4 separate regions of the Homo sapiens genome follow, and all the other regions are linked to region 1. The links are contacts of gene promoters, found by promoter capture Hi-C in blood cells and fetal thymus (Javierre and others, 2016). All regions are on one chromosome and are shown on one strand. The core of a region is centred on a gene start or on the middle of the fragment in contact, and the rest is flanking DNA. Distances in the headings are between cores, read along the strand shown. Region 1 holds the start of CCDC112 (coiled-coil domain containing 112). Region 2 overlaps FEM1C (fem-1 homolog C). Region 3 overlaps FEM1C (fem-1 homolog C). Region 4 has its middle 73 kb from the start of TRIM36.

Region 1 (3,425 bases), core at 591-3,090:
CCTTCTCCTCCTCCTCCTCCTTCTCCTCCTCCTCCTGCTCCTCCTTCTCCTCCTCCTCCTGCTCCTCCTTCTCCTCCTCCTTCTCCCTTCTCCCTTCTCCTTCTTCTCTCTTCTCCTTCTCCTTCTTCTTCTTTGCCTTCTTCTTCTCCTCCATTCTTCTTCCTTCTTCTTCTTCTCCCCTCTTCTTCTTCTCTTTTTTTTTTTTTTTTTTTTTTTTTTTTTTTTTTTTTTTTTTTTTTTGTTGAGACGAAGTCTCACTCTGTCACCAGGCTGGAGTGCAATGACACGATCTTGGCTCACTGCAACCTCCGACTCCCTGGTTCAAGCAATTCTCCTGCCTCAGCCTCCCGAGTAGCTGGGACTACAGACAGGCGCCACCACGCCCAGCTAATTTTTGTATTTTTAGTAGAGATGGGGTTTCACCATGTTGGCCAGGATGGTCTCCATCTCCTGACCTCGTGATCCGCCCACCTCGGCCTCCCAAAGTGCTGGGATTACAGGCGTAAGCCACCACGTCCGGCCTCTTCTGCAAAAACTTCCCTCCACAGACTTCCGGTTTTCCTCCCTTCTCACAGATCTCTCCATATTGGTCCCCTTCTCCTCTTGTCCGTGGTCACCTTCTCGGAGTGGCCTAGGCTTAGTTCTCAGACTTCAATTTATACTCACCCTGGGTGAGCTCATTCAGTCTTATTTCAAATATTTTCTATAGGAAGATCAAATTCGTATCTTTAGCTCTCTCTCTCCTGGGCTCCAGAGGCGTTTATCCCGCTGCCTGTTTAATACCTCTACCAGGATGGTCTCTGGAGTCAGGCTGTCTAGATAGGTATCCTACCCTCTACCTGTGTGGCCATGTGATCCTTAACTTTATCACTGAAATGGAGATGATAATAGTACCTACTTCATGAAGTTATTTGTGAAGATTAAATGCAAAAGTGCATATAAAGCACTTATAACAGCCCTGGCATAAAGGAATTGCTCAATAAATACCTATTTGTTTACTTGTTAAAGGTGAAGGAACCTTACCTATGTGTCTAATTCAACAATGAATTCCCAAGGCCTAGAACAGTGCCTGACATATGCTAGGAGCTCCATATTGACTGACTGAATGAATCGATTTCTATAAAGGGGGAAAAGGTAGTACCTACAGAAATCAGCTCAGTTGCCACAGGTTGTCTTGACTGGAAGCGTCATCTGTGGCTTTTTTCCAACTTCCCAGCACTGTATTTTTGGAATCTGTCTTCTCATTGACCAAGTCCTAGGAATGTAACTGTGGCATTCCTGCCTCTGATATCTGGTTCTGTGGAGCAAGCTGGGTTTTTTTCTTTAAAAATCTAAAATATGATTTATTGTTAGAATCCATTGATAATGTTTTTTCATTTAGACTCAGTCTCAGCAGCGCTAAGTAGAAACCTAGAAAGCGGATGTATATTAGGTAAAAATATGTATATATTGACTATAACACGAATAAAATTTAAGGACGATGTAAGACAATGAATTTTCTTGACAGGTATGGGACTGGGCTGGCACAGTCGGTTAAGTGCCCAAAGGGTATATAAACCCGCGACAGGGCAGAGCGCAGCCCCCGCCCCGCCCCGCCCCGCCCCCACACCCGCCCGCCCCAGAACCCCAGACCCGCCCCTCCCCTGCATCCCGGCTCCGCCCGGCACCTTGCCCCTCCCTCGCCCCGCCCCTCCCCGCCTGAATCCCGGCCCCCGCCTCGCATTTCGGCCCCGCCCTGCACCCCAGTCCCGCCCCTCCCGCACCCCCGCACCCCTGCACCCCCGCATCTCAGCCCCGCCCTGCATCCCGACCCCGCCCTACATCTCGGCCCCGCCCTGCATCCCGGCCAAGCCCGCAGCGCAGGGAGCTGTCTGCAGAGGCCAGGGTGCGCCTGCCACGAATCCCCAGGCACCGGTGGCCGCCGCGGCCCGAGTAGCTCGGCGGGTAAACATGGCCGCACTGACGACGGTTGTGGTAGCGGCTGCGGCCACCGCGGTAGCCGGGGCTGTGGCAGGGGCGGGCGCGGCCACCGGGACCGGCGTGGGAGCGACGCCAGCGCCTCAACAGGTAAATCCGGGAGAACCGAGAGCTGCTCTGGCGGCAGGCGAGGGGCTGCAGGCCCTGGCTGAACAGGTGCCCTCTGCAGCGCCGGCGGGAGGCGCGGCGTTCGCCTCCCCTGCTCGGGGCCTGGCACGCGCTGGGCGTTGCTCTTTGTTGGCTTGTGCGTTTAACAGCTTTTGCAGAGCCGCCTCCATGTGGTTTCGGAGTCGAGGAAGACCTGGGTGGGAACCCGGCTCTGCCGCTTCCTAGCCGCGTGATAAGAACATATGCTGTCGGCGACTCACTTTCTTCTCTAAAAATTGGGAATAGTAACATGCACCTCCCGAGCTTTGGACTAACGTTATGTCTGGGGAGCCCCTGGCACAGTGCTTGATTGGAGGGGGACTCTGTGCTCAGTAATTGGTGGCAGCTCTGTTACTGTACCGGCGCTGGGAACACAAGGAGAAAGACAATATGGGATGGTCGGAGGCAGAGGTGTTTCCAGTGATCGGCTTAGGACCGCTTTCTAGGTGGTGAGGACAAGGTATCTTTGTTCAGATGTTATCAGCTCAGCGAGACTTTCCATGATCTCCCTAAAATGAATCGCCTTACGCGGCACACCCAGTCCCTGTTTCTGGTTTTATTTTTCCCCATAGCACTTAGTACCATATATTATATTACATACTTTATTTCTATTGTTTATGTTTCTCCTCACACCCCTCACCCTCCCTCGCACCCCCATGAGAATGTAAGCTCCATGAGGGCAGAAAGTATTGGAAATTTTATTCTTTATTGTATTCCCAGCACCAAGAACTATGCCTGTTGTGTAGTGCCTGGAACGTAGTATGCACTTACTAAATAATTTGTGGATCAATATAAACCTGAAGGAAGGCTGTCATGAGCTGAGGAGAGGTTCCATCTTTTTCCTCCTTTAAGGAAATACAGTGTCTTTACTCGTAGACCTTCAGGAAATTCCACCTACGGCAAATTTTCTCACACATCCTCTATAATTCTCTTTATTATTCTAACTCTGTCCCAAGTATCTCAGGAAAAAATGTAAAATATATAAATATACATAATACGTAAAGTATTTTTAAGTACTATGCTCAAAAAAATGTGTGACACCATGTTGCTGGCTTTCTCCATCATTTCTCTAAATTCTTGTAGCAATGTTCTGTCTTCTGATCTGCATTTCTTGCGAGTTGCCTAATGTTGTTATTGATGCACACTTTTGTGATGTTTGCCTTCTCAGGGGTTGGATCAGATCACCTGTGGAGCTCTTTCAGATATTTTATCAATCCCCTAGAGGATATCTAGCAATGTTTGGAGACATTTTTGGCTGTCAGAGTGGGGAGCAGGGGGGTGTTGAGGGGCTGCTAGCATCT
Region 2 (3,425 bases), core at 538-3,037, 240 kb before region 1:
CTAATTCTAACAGAAATTGAGCAGCTAAAAGTTCTTGATTCAGTACTACAGACCAATAGAAAACGCTGTAGGCTCAGATTTGGAGACTGGCTCTAGAAGACATTCTGTCCTCATTCATCAGTCAGTTTAGATACCCAAAGTAATTAAATAAATTGGTAATAAGGTAATTAACATGCACTTTCTGTAGGCAAGGCATTCTGTGGGACATTTTGGAGGTTATGAGAAGATACGAGGTGTCACATTTTTAACTTCTGAAGGAATAGTATAAGCAATCCATGCTATAGGATTTTAGAGCGGGTGTACTGACTAGGAATGCTTCATGGAGAAAGTAGAAGTTAAACAGGGCTTTGAATTTTGGGGTTTAGATCTATGGACAGGTTGGGGTTTAGATCTGCAGAAAGTTTATTGGGATGTGGATCTGTGGAAGGGTTTTGGCAGTTTTGAAGGTTTAGGAAATGGCATAAGGAAAGGCACTTTGAAGAATATGCTTGGAGGGTCCAGGAATTGGAAAGTAGGCATATTAGAACTAAAAGGCACTCAGGGCTGAATTTTAAAGGACATTTAATCTAGGTACAGGAGTTGGATTTTATTTTTCATGCCAGTAAAAGTTTTTCAGCAGGGGACTAACTGGAGTGGTTTGTTTGTTTGCTTGTTTGTTTTCAGAGAAACTTATCTAACTGCATTCTACTACAACACTGTGACATCTAACCGCATTCTACTACATAGTCTTTGAGGCTAAAGACCTAGTGTTTTTACCCCATGCATTAGGAAGAGTATCTGGCCCTAAATGAGCTTGTTGAGTGGACATGTTGGATTTAAGAGAGGAAAGATTATAAGCTCCTTGATGGCAAGCACTATGTTTTATAGGCCTTTCTGTAGGGAAATAAATACATGCATGAAGACTTGAAGTAACAAAGTAAGACAGTAGTTGGACAAAAATGAGTAGCACAGGTAGAATATAGGGGTTCAGAAAAGGGAGAAATTCATGTAGGCATGTGGCAAGGATTGCTAGCATTAAAAGGGTTTGAGAGAACTAGTTCAGACAGATTATTTGCCTTTTCATTATGGAAATTTTCTAACTTACACAGAGAGAATACATTGAACCACTATGTATTCATCATCTTACTTCAACAATTACCCATTTGCTAAAGTTTAAAAAAAAGTTTCTACTTTCCTTTTGTTTTCTATAGTAGTTTAAAGCAAATCCAAGGCTTTATATTATTTCTCTCTCATAGAATGGGCATTTAGAATATAGATGTATTTTAGTCAAGGAAATGCTAAAGAAAAATCTTATTTAATTCCCCACTGTAAATGCACAAGAATCTCAAATGAGAAAATCTCTCTTGTAAACTAAAAACTGTTGGTATTCAGATAGACTAAGATAATGATTGATGTCATTCTAGGTTATTTTAGTATACTTTAGTACTATCTGAGTGTTGAAAGCTGAAGTTCTCTTTTCCTTCTTGACTTTGAAAACTCTTCTCAGCTGTTGGTTACCTCAGCACACCTACTTACAGAGAAAAATAAAAGGGGGAAGGGAGGGACTTATTCTAATATATCTATATTTATTTTGATTGAGTAATGTTTAAATAACTTACTAGTTGAAGTCATTAACACTTTAATCCCAAATTATGAAGTTACTCCTGTAAGTTGCTCTGTGTTCATTCTTTTCCCTCTTGTATCCCCTGGCACACTTTTCTGTGTCCTTGGGAAGAATTAGTATCTTAGTTGGATAAACTAAGCTGTAGATGGTGTGCAAATTGAGTCCAGTAGGGAAATATCCATGTGGTCCTTTGTCCCTGGAGATTGGATTTTGAACTGTGAATCCTCACAGAATTGAGCAGTTTGGTGAGAATGAGTAGATCCTGAGCACTACTGCTGTTCATATTGTTCGTGGCAGTAACATGAGCTTAAGATAGAAGTTACGTTTCACTTACTGGCCTTCGGGTACAATGTAGTTCCTTCACTGGTTCATTTTTTATCAGATTTTCATTGATTGGTTGATAAAATATGTTTGTTTGAAATAAAATTCAGGAAACCCAGGGCATTACATAGATTTATGCTGTTGAGGCAGCAGGAATGTATGTGATGGAAGATAGAAGTGGAAGAGATAGGGAGAGACCCAGATGAAAAAGTCAGTTGGATGCAAATCTGATCAGAACATGTCTTCCTTCTTTTTTTCCTCCCTTTGGGAAGAGCTGTGATTGAACAGGGAGTCTGTGAACTAGAGGACAGGGAATTATAATGTTGAAGTTTTCTGTCATTAGATGAGTTTTTTACACATAATTAGTTGCTTTTAGTCCTCATCCCTTAGCTCCAGTGCTCTTAGCCTTGAAAATTCTACTTAACATCGAGACTCATTTCAAATGCAATTCTTCATCTCCCTCAGGTTATAAGAATGCATCTTACCTCTTTGGATGCAGATATTTTTTAGCGTTTAACTTTGTTGTAAGCTCAAGGACCTTTATTGTTAAATTTCTGTTTGTTCTTTGCTCAGTGCCTTATACAAAGAATTAATGAAGGGAGGGCACATAGTAAGTAGTCTTGGCACAATTTATCTTCTTTTTTTTAATTTCCTTTTTTTTGAACTTCTGTTCTTGAGTATCTCTCATGATAGACTACACATGGGGAAGGGAAACATTCTAAGCAGAGAATCCTTCTTCTAGTGCTCCTTTGATACCCTAAGTTGTTTTTTTCCCTTTATCCCTTCTTACCTCCTCCATCAACCTACACCTGTTAGTTATTCAGGGAATAAAATACTTGGAATCAGCATTATTGTGCAATTGAACCACACACCCTATCCTCATCTTACAAGTGGACCACCTCTGTACTCAGCCCAACCCCAGCTACAAAGTTGAGGAAGGAATGGGTTGGTGCCAAGCATAGTAGGCTGAAGAAAGAGAGATGAGGACTGTTTTTGTGTCTTTCCAAATAAATGTATTATAATAAAAGACCCTCTAATTGCTGCTTCTATCAGTCAACACTTATACTTTCACCAAAAATATAATATTTTTATTTTAATTGGATTTTTAAAACAGCCTTATTGAGATAAAATTCACAAAACCACTTAAAGTGTATACAATTCAATGGCTTTTCAGTATGTTCACGGGGTTATACAACCATCACAACTATCAGCTTTTCATCACCCCCGGAAAAAATCTCATATCCATTAAGAGTCACTCCCTCCTATCCCTCCTCATTCCCCTGAAACTGCACTAGTCTTAGGCAACCAGTAATCTCTTTTCTGTCTTAAGTTTGCCTGTTCTGGACATTTAATTTAAATGGAATCACATAATATGTAGTCTTTTGTGAGTTGTCTTGTTACTTAGTGTAATGTTTTCAAGGTTCATCCATTTTGTAGCATGTATGAGTGCTTTTCTTTTTATTGCAGAATAATATTCCATTGAAATAGATATATCACTTTT
Region 3 (3,425 bases), core at 514-3,013, 220 kb before region 1:
TCAGTTTACCTGTGAGTTCAATGAGCTGGATCACTCACTTGGATTTTTGTGTTGACATTTTATTCTGAGGGTTGATGTTACACTATTTAAGGAGTCATCAATGCAAACAGTCACATTAGGTATGTCATCATCTTTAGTCAGTAAAAACCTTGTAATGAGGAGTAGTAAATAAACAAGAGAACATTAGACTTTTTGGTTAAATAATTGAGATTTAATTTTTAAAAGATATTCTTACTCATTTGCTAGGTTGTAAATTTGATTTCACCATTAAGAAAAGGTAAATTGGATATAAATGAACGATCTCCAACTTTTTGATGAAGAGGTTTTACTATCTCTCACTGTGGGAAAATTTGATGAAATATTTGAACTGTCACATATATTAAGAATACTTTATGATTTAGACCAATATTCTAGAAATATCAAATGTCAGTATCTTGAAATCATCTGCCTCTAACTTTGTGGTATAAGAATTATATATGAATAAGCTATTATTTTTATAAAGGAAAACTTTGCCATTATAGTAAATTACATTAGTTGATCTCGATAATTTGAGGATAACAGATGACAATTGAATTTTTAATTGATTTAGTATTTCCTCCTCCTCTTTGGGGGCTGGGTGGGAGGGCTTACATGCTCTTATAGTGAGGCACATCTCACTGTTTTGCAGCAGAATTTGAATTGTGCAACTCCTGTGTAAAGTAAGGATTTCTTTAAATAGCATTTTTGCACCAGTAAAAATAGATAACTTAGAACTCAGTCTTGATAACTGAAATGACTTATTTCACTTAGAATACATTTCTCCCTTCTCTGCCATCTCCACAAATGCCATTGGGAGGTTTTGAAAAACCAGTTAATTTAATAGCTCAAAATTGTCCCTGATTTTATTTTCTTTTAGGGAAAATTGTTTCATAAATGTGACACTGATAAAGCCTTTGTCAGAAAGTATTCTCACAATTATGAGATGGATTATAATAAAATACTTAAATTTGTGTTATTTTTTGAACCACAGATGAGTAAATTTAATAATGAACCAATTACACTCTTGAGTCTAACTAAACTGTACACTGTAGCACGGTGTTATTGACTGGAGTTAATGTGTAAGTTATTAACATTTCTATGAAAATGCCCTTTTGGGGCCTCCTGAATTTTAGATGTTCCACTGTTTTGATCATTTCTATAAAAGAAATGGTCATTTTACTTAGATGCCAGTCTACTTTATAAAGACAAATGGATTATAGACTTAAAAATAGTCATTTTTCTTATTCATAAATCTGACAGGCATAAACCCAAATCAAAGATAATTTGGTGCCCATTATGAATTTGAAGTTAAGTGATAGCTCACTTGTAAAGTGACTACCTTAATGTGTATAGAGACCCCAGTCTACTATTATTTGGGAAAATTGTTTAGGTTATATGGGAAAAGTAGCTCTTTAAAAATCATATTGCCCAACAGAAACCTTAGGCTGAATTTACAGGTATGATAATTTTTGTAATTAATTTTCTTAGAATTGTGCAGGCTGGATGAGATAATGACATACTCTTTTACACTGTAACAGCAGCATTATTGCCTAGAACTTTAACCATTTTAGAGTTAGATACTAAGGAAACAAACTAATTGGTCATCATCATTTTCTTTTTTTCTTTTTCTTTTTTTTTTTTTTGCCCTTATGTGTCACTAAACAACTAGTTTCTCTCCCTTTTGTCAGTTCCCATTGTGTATTTTTTCAAAAGAAGTACTGTATTCGGATGCCAGCTAATAAATTGTCACACAATGGAAAATCATATGCCACAACATTCATTGTAAGGTTTAATAAAATTAAATTTGCACCAAATTTAAGTGTATTCTTATTAACTCAATACTTGATTGGTATTATCCTAATGCAAATGATAGTAAACTCCTGTTTCAGAAAAACCTAATTGATAATTTGTGGCCAGTTAAAACTTAAAAGATAGCATTTATTGTTAATACTTCTATGTAAGTATGATTTATGTACAGTTTATTCTAAATTTTTTTTCTAGTAGAGATCACAGAAGCTAAAGATATGGGGAGACTTTTGTTGTCAACTGCATGAGAGAAGGGATGCCTTTAATTTTTGTTTTTTAATTGGTTTGCTGTGATCAGAAGTATATCATAAATATATTATTATGAATGCAAATTTTATACGTTTGTTTTCCATCACTTTTCATTTGTAAAATCTAAGTAGTCCTTGTTTTTTTTATGTTTAACTTGCCTAATACAAAAAGCTCTAGTTGAGTCAGAAAATGAATTGGCTGTAATTTCTAAACTCCAAGCATAAATTGAAATCTCCAGTTTTATGGGTTTTTCCCTTTTGAATTGTTAATATCCCTTTTTCATGACAAGTATAGGCTTTGTCTTCCTTTGACCGGGCCCTTTTAAACATTAGTCTTCTTTACCCTTGGTCTTGTGGTTCTATGGTTGTCTGCACTACCACCACCAATATTTAGGAGGACTCTTACCAAATTTATCAGTAAAAGAATATTGTATGTTTAAGGCTCTAAATAAGAAAAAGTCTTAGTATGTCCTCAAGATACTCTATTTCTTCAAGATACTTTATTTCATTTTTTTAATCTCTGTACTAGTGGGTAGAACGTTCTTTGTTGAGAAGTTTGGGGCTGTGGGAGTTAAGTGAAGTCACTGATTCCTGGGTTCCGTGTTACTTTATTGCATGTTTTTTTGTAAAGCTCTTAAATAAGATTTTATCTCATAAAATTACAGCTTTATATAATTATGTCAATTTAATTGATTTTTCTAATATATGTACATCTGATTTCAAAAGTGAAATAATACAGTTCCCTACCTTGAAAAAATTGAAAACCCTAGGATTGGTATCTATTTTTAGTATCTTTTCATCCTTATACTTGTAGATTATACAGCTATAAAAGATACTTGTAGTAGTACATAGTTGTTCTAAAACCTAGTATCTTAGGTATGTTTTCCTTTTTTCTTTTTCCCATGTTGAATCTTAAGTTTTTTCAAGACAGAAATTCTTAAAGTAGTAGTAGCTAAAATTTGGTAAATTATGAAAATGCAATTTAAAGTCACGAATGACTTTAAATAAGTGTGATCGGGATTATATACTGGAAAGTTGAGAGAAAATTAGGCATATTCCTCATGCTCTTTCAGAGTAATCTTTCACACACACAAAAAATAAGCCTGCATTGTATGCCACTAGGCAACAATATCTTTCTACTTATCTCTTCAGTAGCTGATAGTAGAATAGCTTCTACTCATCTAAATGTAACTTTTTACAGAAATGGTGGGAGCTTTAGTTATACAGAATTTGTAAAATGCATTTAAACCTTTCCGATGATCATCTTAAGAATAAACTAGTGTTTTGTACTATTTTGCATCACTTAATGCCTAGGAAAATGTACTGAGATGTGTCCTTTAGGTGATTTTGTCA
Region 4 (3,425 bases), core at 572-3,071, 200 kb after region 1:
ATGCTCAAAAAATGTTAATTTTGAGAAGTGGACAAATCCCTCTATCATAAACTATGACTTTCCATAAACCTCATAGTTACTCTCCCAAGACAGTTTTCCCAAAGAGCAATCTGACTTTGTTGAGTGGTTTGTTAGGTAACCTGTATATATGCAATTTTAGATATGAGAGAGAGCCTTTAACTCTGGAAAAATATACAGTATTTCCCAAGCATTTGGGTAGTAGAAAGACTGTTTTCATGCTTTTCCCTAATGAAACTTAATTAACAAATTTTCCATCCTCCCTCATTCCCTACCACTGAATTAGTCTATGTCTAATCAAGTCTAGAAATGTCAAGGAAATTACCTCTCCCTTTTTAAATTCAGCATCTGGGTGAAATTAACTCTTGAAAAAAAATAGTTTTGATTTGATGGCTGGTTGATAGGCAATGACAACAGAGGCTATGAGAGTTTTGGGCTCTGCTTACAGAATCATTCACATGGAAAATGACAAGCTGTAACTGCCCAGGTAAAAATCAGAATTCAGCAACTACTGTTGAGAGTTTTCAAAAATAACTGGAGAGCAAGTTTTCCACAGCCCCCAAGTGAATTTCGGATGGCATTTTATTTTATGTCCTCTTTGGATTCTTTAACTGAGAAATCCCCTAGTTAGGAGGAAAAAAGCAACAACAAAAATGTGTTAGGCATGTGCAAGTGGAGAGTAGATTCTAAGTGAGGATATTGCCCCCTAGTGCTGAAATGTAGCCCAACCAGGAGCACCCCCACAAAGCACAGCTGAATATGGTTATGCAAAAGTCTCAAATTATTCATCTGATTTGACTTATTTGTGGATGCTCAAAAGAATTAACATATTAGACAGTGTTAGGCAATCTGCAGCTAACAATAACTCTTGCCCGTTTGAGTACCAGTTGGAAAACTTCCAGGGACTGTGATCTTATGTAAGTATAAGGTAGAGGTGATGACACTTTTAGAAGTAGCAGCTCATTTTGGTGAAGAGTTTTGGTTCATGAAGATTTTCTTTCACATTTGTGGTAAGTGGTTAATAATTTTACTGTTTGAATCTTGCCAATAGGATTTACAGCCAGTTGTCTTTCATGAAAGATAAGCTTGTTATACTTTTTATATAACTTGTATTAAGTATTGCTAGTATTAAATTCTGTATACAACGTCAGGATATTGAATTCAGTTTTTTAAATTTGGCCAACATGTGAGTTTGTCTTAGGTATCAGGCAAATGGCTTATTTGGGTTTTGTTGTCAGGGAGAGAAAGTTAAAATGGCTTCTTCATCTCACAACCTGTGTTGGTCAGGGGCCAACCAGGAGACAAAAACCACACAGTAATTTGAAAAGGAAAAGCTAAAGTATTAACTATGACCAAGGATTCGAATAACAGGGAATTGGCTGGTAAGAAGTAAAGAGAATGTTAAAGAATACAGAAATAGCAGTTACAGGGAATAGCCACTGTCCCTGGCACTGACAGAGAGCACCAACAAAGGTGCAAATTTCAAAAAAACATCCCCAAACCCCACCACCTCTACCGCCTGTCAGGTCTCCTGGCTGAGATCCAGACCTCAATGGAGAGGGTATGGGTGTGGCCATGGTGCTAAGATGCCAGGATGGTGACACTCCTTAGAAATGCTAAGGGAGGCTGGGTGCTGTGTCTCATGCCTGTAATCCCAGCACTTTCTGAGGCCAAGGTGGGTGGACCACTTGAGGTCAGGAGTTCAAGACTAGCCTGGCCAAAATGGCAAAACCTTGTCTCTACTAAAAGTACAAAAATTAGGCCGGGCACAGTGGCTCATGCCTGTAATCCCAGCACTTTGGGAGGCCAAGACAGGTGGATCATGAGGTCAGGAGTTCGAGACCAGCCTGACCAACATGGTGAAACCCCGTCTCTACTAAAAAAATACAAAAATTAGCCAGGCATGGTGGCGTGCGCCTGTAATCACAGCTATTCAGGAGTCTGAGGCAGGAGAATCGCTCAAACCTGTGGGGCAGAAGTTGCAGTGAGCTGAGATCGTGCCACTACGCTCCAGCCTGGGCGACAGAGCAAGACTCTGTCTCAAAAAAAAAAAAAAAAAAAAAAGAACTGAAAGTACAAAAATTAGCTGAGCATGTTGGCAGGCGCCTGTGATTCCAGCTACTCAGGAGGCCGAGGCAGGAGAGTTGCTTGAACCCGGGAGGTGGAGGTTGCAGTGAGCTGAAATTGTGCCACTTCACTCCAGCCTAAGTGACAGAGCGAGGCTCCATCTCAAAAAAAAAAAGAGAAGATTAAAAAAAAAAGAAAAAAAAGAAATGCTAAGGGAGCTGTTCAGAGGGAGGTATTATGCCTTAGGGCCAAAGTGGGTGTCAGAGAAAGCTGCCTACAGGGAACTGCTATAGACTGTGTGCTGCCAGTTGCCTGCTGCCACATGCTGTACGAGCCAAGAGTGGTGGAAGCTGCGTGCTTCAGAAGCCTACTGAGAGGAGCACACCAGAATCTGAAAAGCCATGCTTTTCCCTCCTCCTGTGTTCCTTCCATGTGCTCTACTGACAAAGCTTAACAATGTGCCAGCTGGCAAAAGGAAGATACAGGTTCTTTCTCTTTTATTATGGAGCAGGCAATGAAGAATGGATTTGAACCCCAGTCAATAAATGAATAACTGTACAGGATATTTTAAATATTTTTCAGTATTGGAAACATGCCTTTTTTTTTTTTTTTTTTTTTTTTTTTGAGACAGGGGCTTGCTCTGTTGCCGAGGCTAGAGTGCAGTGGCGTGATCATGACTCATTGCAGCCTCGATCTCCTAGGCTCAAGCCATTCTTCCGCTTAAGCCTCCTGAGTAGCTGGGGCTGCAGGGATGCACCACCAAGCCCAGCTAATTTTTATAGTTTTTGCAGAGATGGGGTTGTGCCATTTTTCCCAGGCTATTCTTTTCTAATGCAAGCACTTAACGCTATAAATTTCTCTAAGCACTGCTTTAGCTACATCCCACACATTTTAACATGTTGAGTTTGATTTTCACTCAGTTAAAAATGTTTTCTAATTTTCCTTGTAATTTCTTTTTACCCATGTGCTACTTAGAAGTGATTTCCTTAATTACCAACTACTTGAAGATTTTCCAGTATCTTTCTTTTATTGTTTCTAGTTTATTTCTGTTGTGATAAGAGAATAGACTCTATATGACTTTACTCTTATGTATACTGAGACTTGTTTTATCATGCTGAATATGATTTATCTTGATGAATGTTTCATGTTCATTTAAAAAGAATGTTGCTGGGTGAAGTGTACTACAAATTTCAACTAGGTCAGGTTAGTTGATGGTGTTCACATCCTTATATCCTTGCTGAGTTTTTATCTACTTATTCTGTGAATTACTGAGAGGGGAGCATTGAAATCTTCAAGTTATGATTTGGATTAGCTTATTTTTCCTTCCAATATTCTCAGCA

What was found. The method cuts DNA at HindIII sites, captures the fragments that hold promoters and counts their contacts. A CHiCAGO score of 5 or more calls a contact.
Region 2: a fragment that was not itself captured here is called in contact with the fragment with the promoter of CCDC112 in region 1 in 15 of 17 cell types (non-activated CD4 T cells, naive CD8 T cells, activated CD4 T cells and 12 more); the score reaches 12.3 in non-activated CD4 T cells.
Region 3: a contact is called between a fragment that was not itself captured here and the fragment with the promoter of CCDC112 in region 1, in 2 of 17 cell types (M1 macrophages and activated CD4 T cells). The highest score is 5.7, in M1 macrophages.
Region 4: a contact is called between a fragment that was not itself captured here and the fragment with the promoter of CCDC112 in region 1, in 1 of 17 cell types (M2 macrophages). The highest score is 5.3, in M2 macrophages.

What each region holds. Positions count from the first base shown.
Region 1 is chr5:115,295,069-115,298,493 of GRCh38, reverse strand. CCDC112 (coiled-coil domain containing 112) reads left to right here and starts at 1,840. Exons shown (of 10, transcript NM_001040440.3): 1 at 1,840-2,067. The coding sequence starts at 1,951. LOC105379129 (a long non-coding RNA gene) reads right to left here and starts at 1,566. Exons shown (of 5, transcript XR_948684.3): 1 at 1,146-1,566. RefSeq lists a silencer at 1,742-2,191. The HindIII fragment of the contact is 8,729 bases long and covers 1-3,425 here.
Region 2 is chr5:115,535,846-115,539,270 of GRCh38, reverse strand. All of the region lies in intron 2 of FEM1C (fem-1 homolog C), which reads left to right. Among named protein-coding and RNA genes, the nearest start is that of FEM1C, 7.2 kb to the left of the region's middle. The HindIII fragment of the contact is 5,527 bases long and covers 1-3,425 here.
Region 3 is chr5:115,519,315-115,522,739 of GRCh38, reverse strand. FEM1C (fem-1 homolog C) reads left to right here. Exons shown (of 3, transcript NM_020177.3): 3 at 1-1,832. Among named protein-coding and RNA genes, the nearest start is that of FEM1C, 24 kb to the left of the region's middle. The HindIII fragment of the contact is 4,322 bases long and covers 1-3,425 here.
Region 4 is chr5:115,095,585-115,099,009 of GRCh38, reverse strand. No RefSeq gene overlaps it. Among named protein-coding and RNA genes, the nearest start is that of TRIM36, 73 kb to the left of the region's middle. The HindIII fragment of the contact is 1,431 bases long and covers 1,106-2,536 here.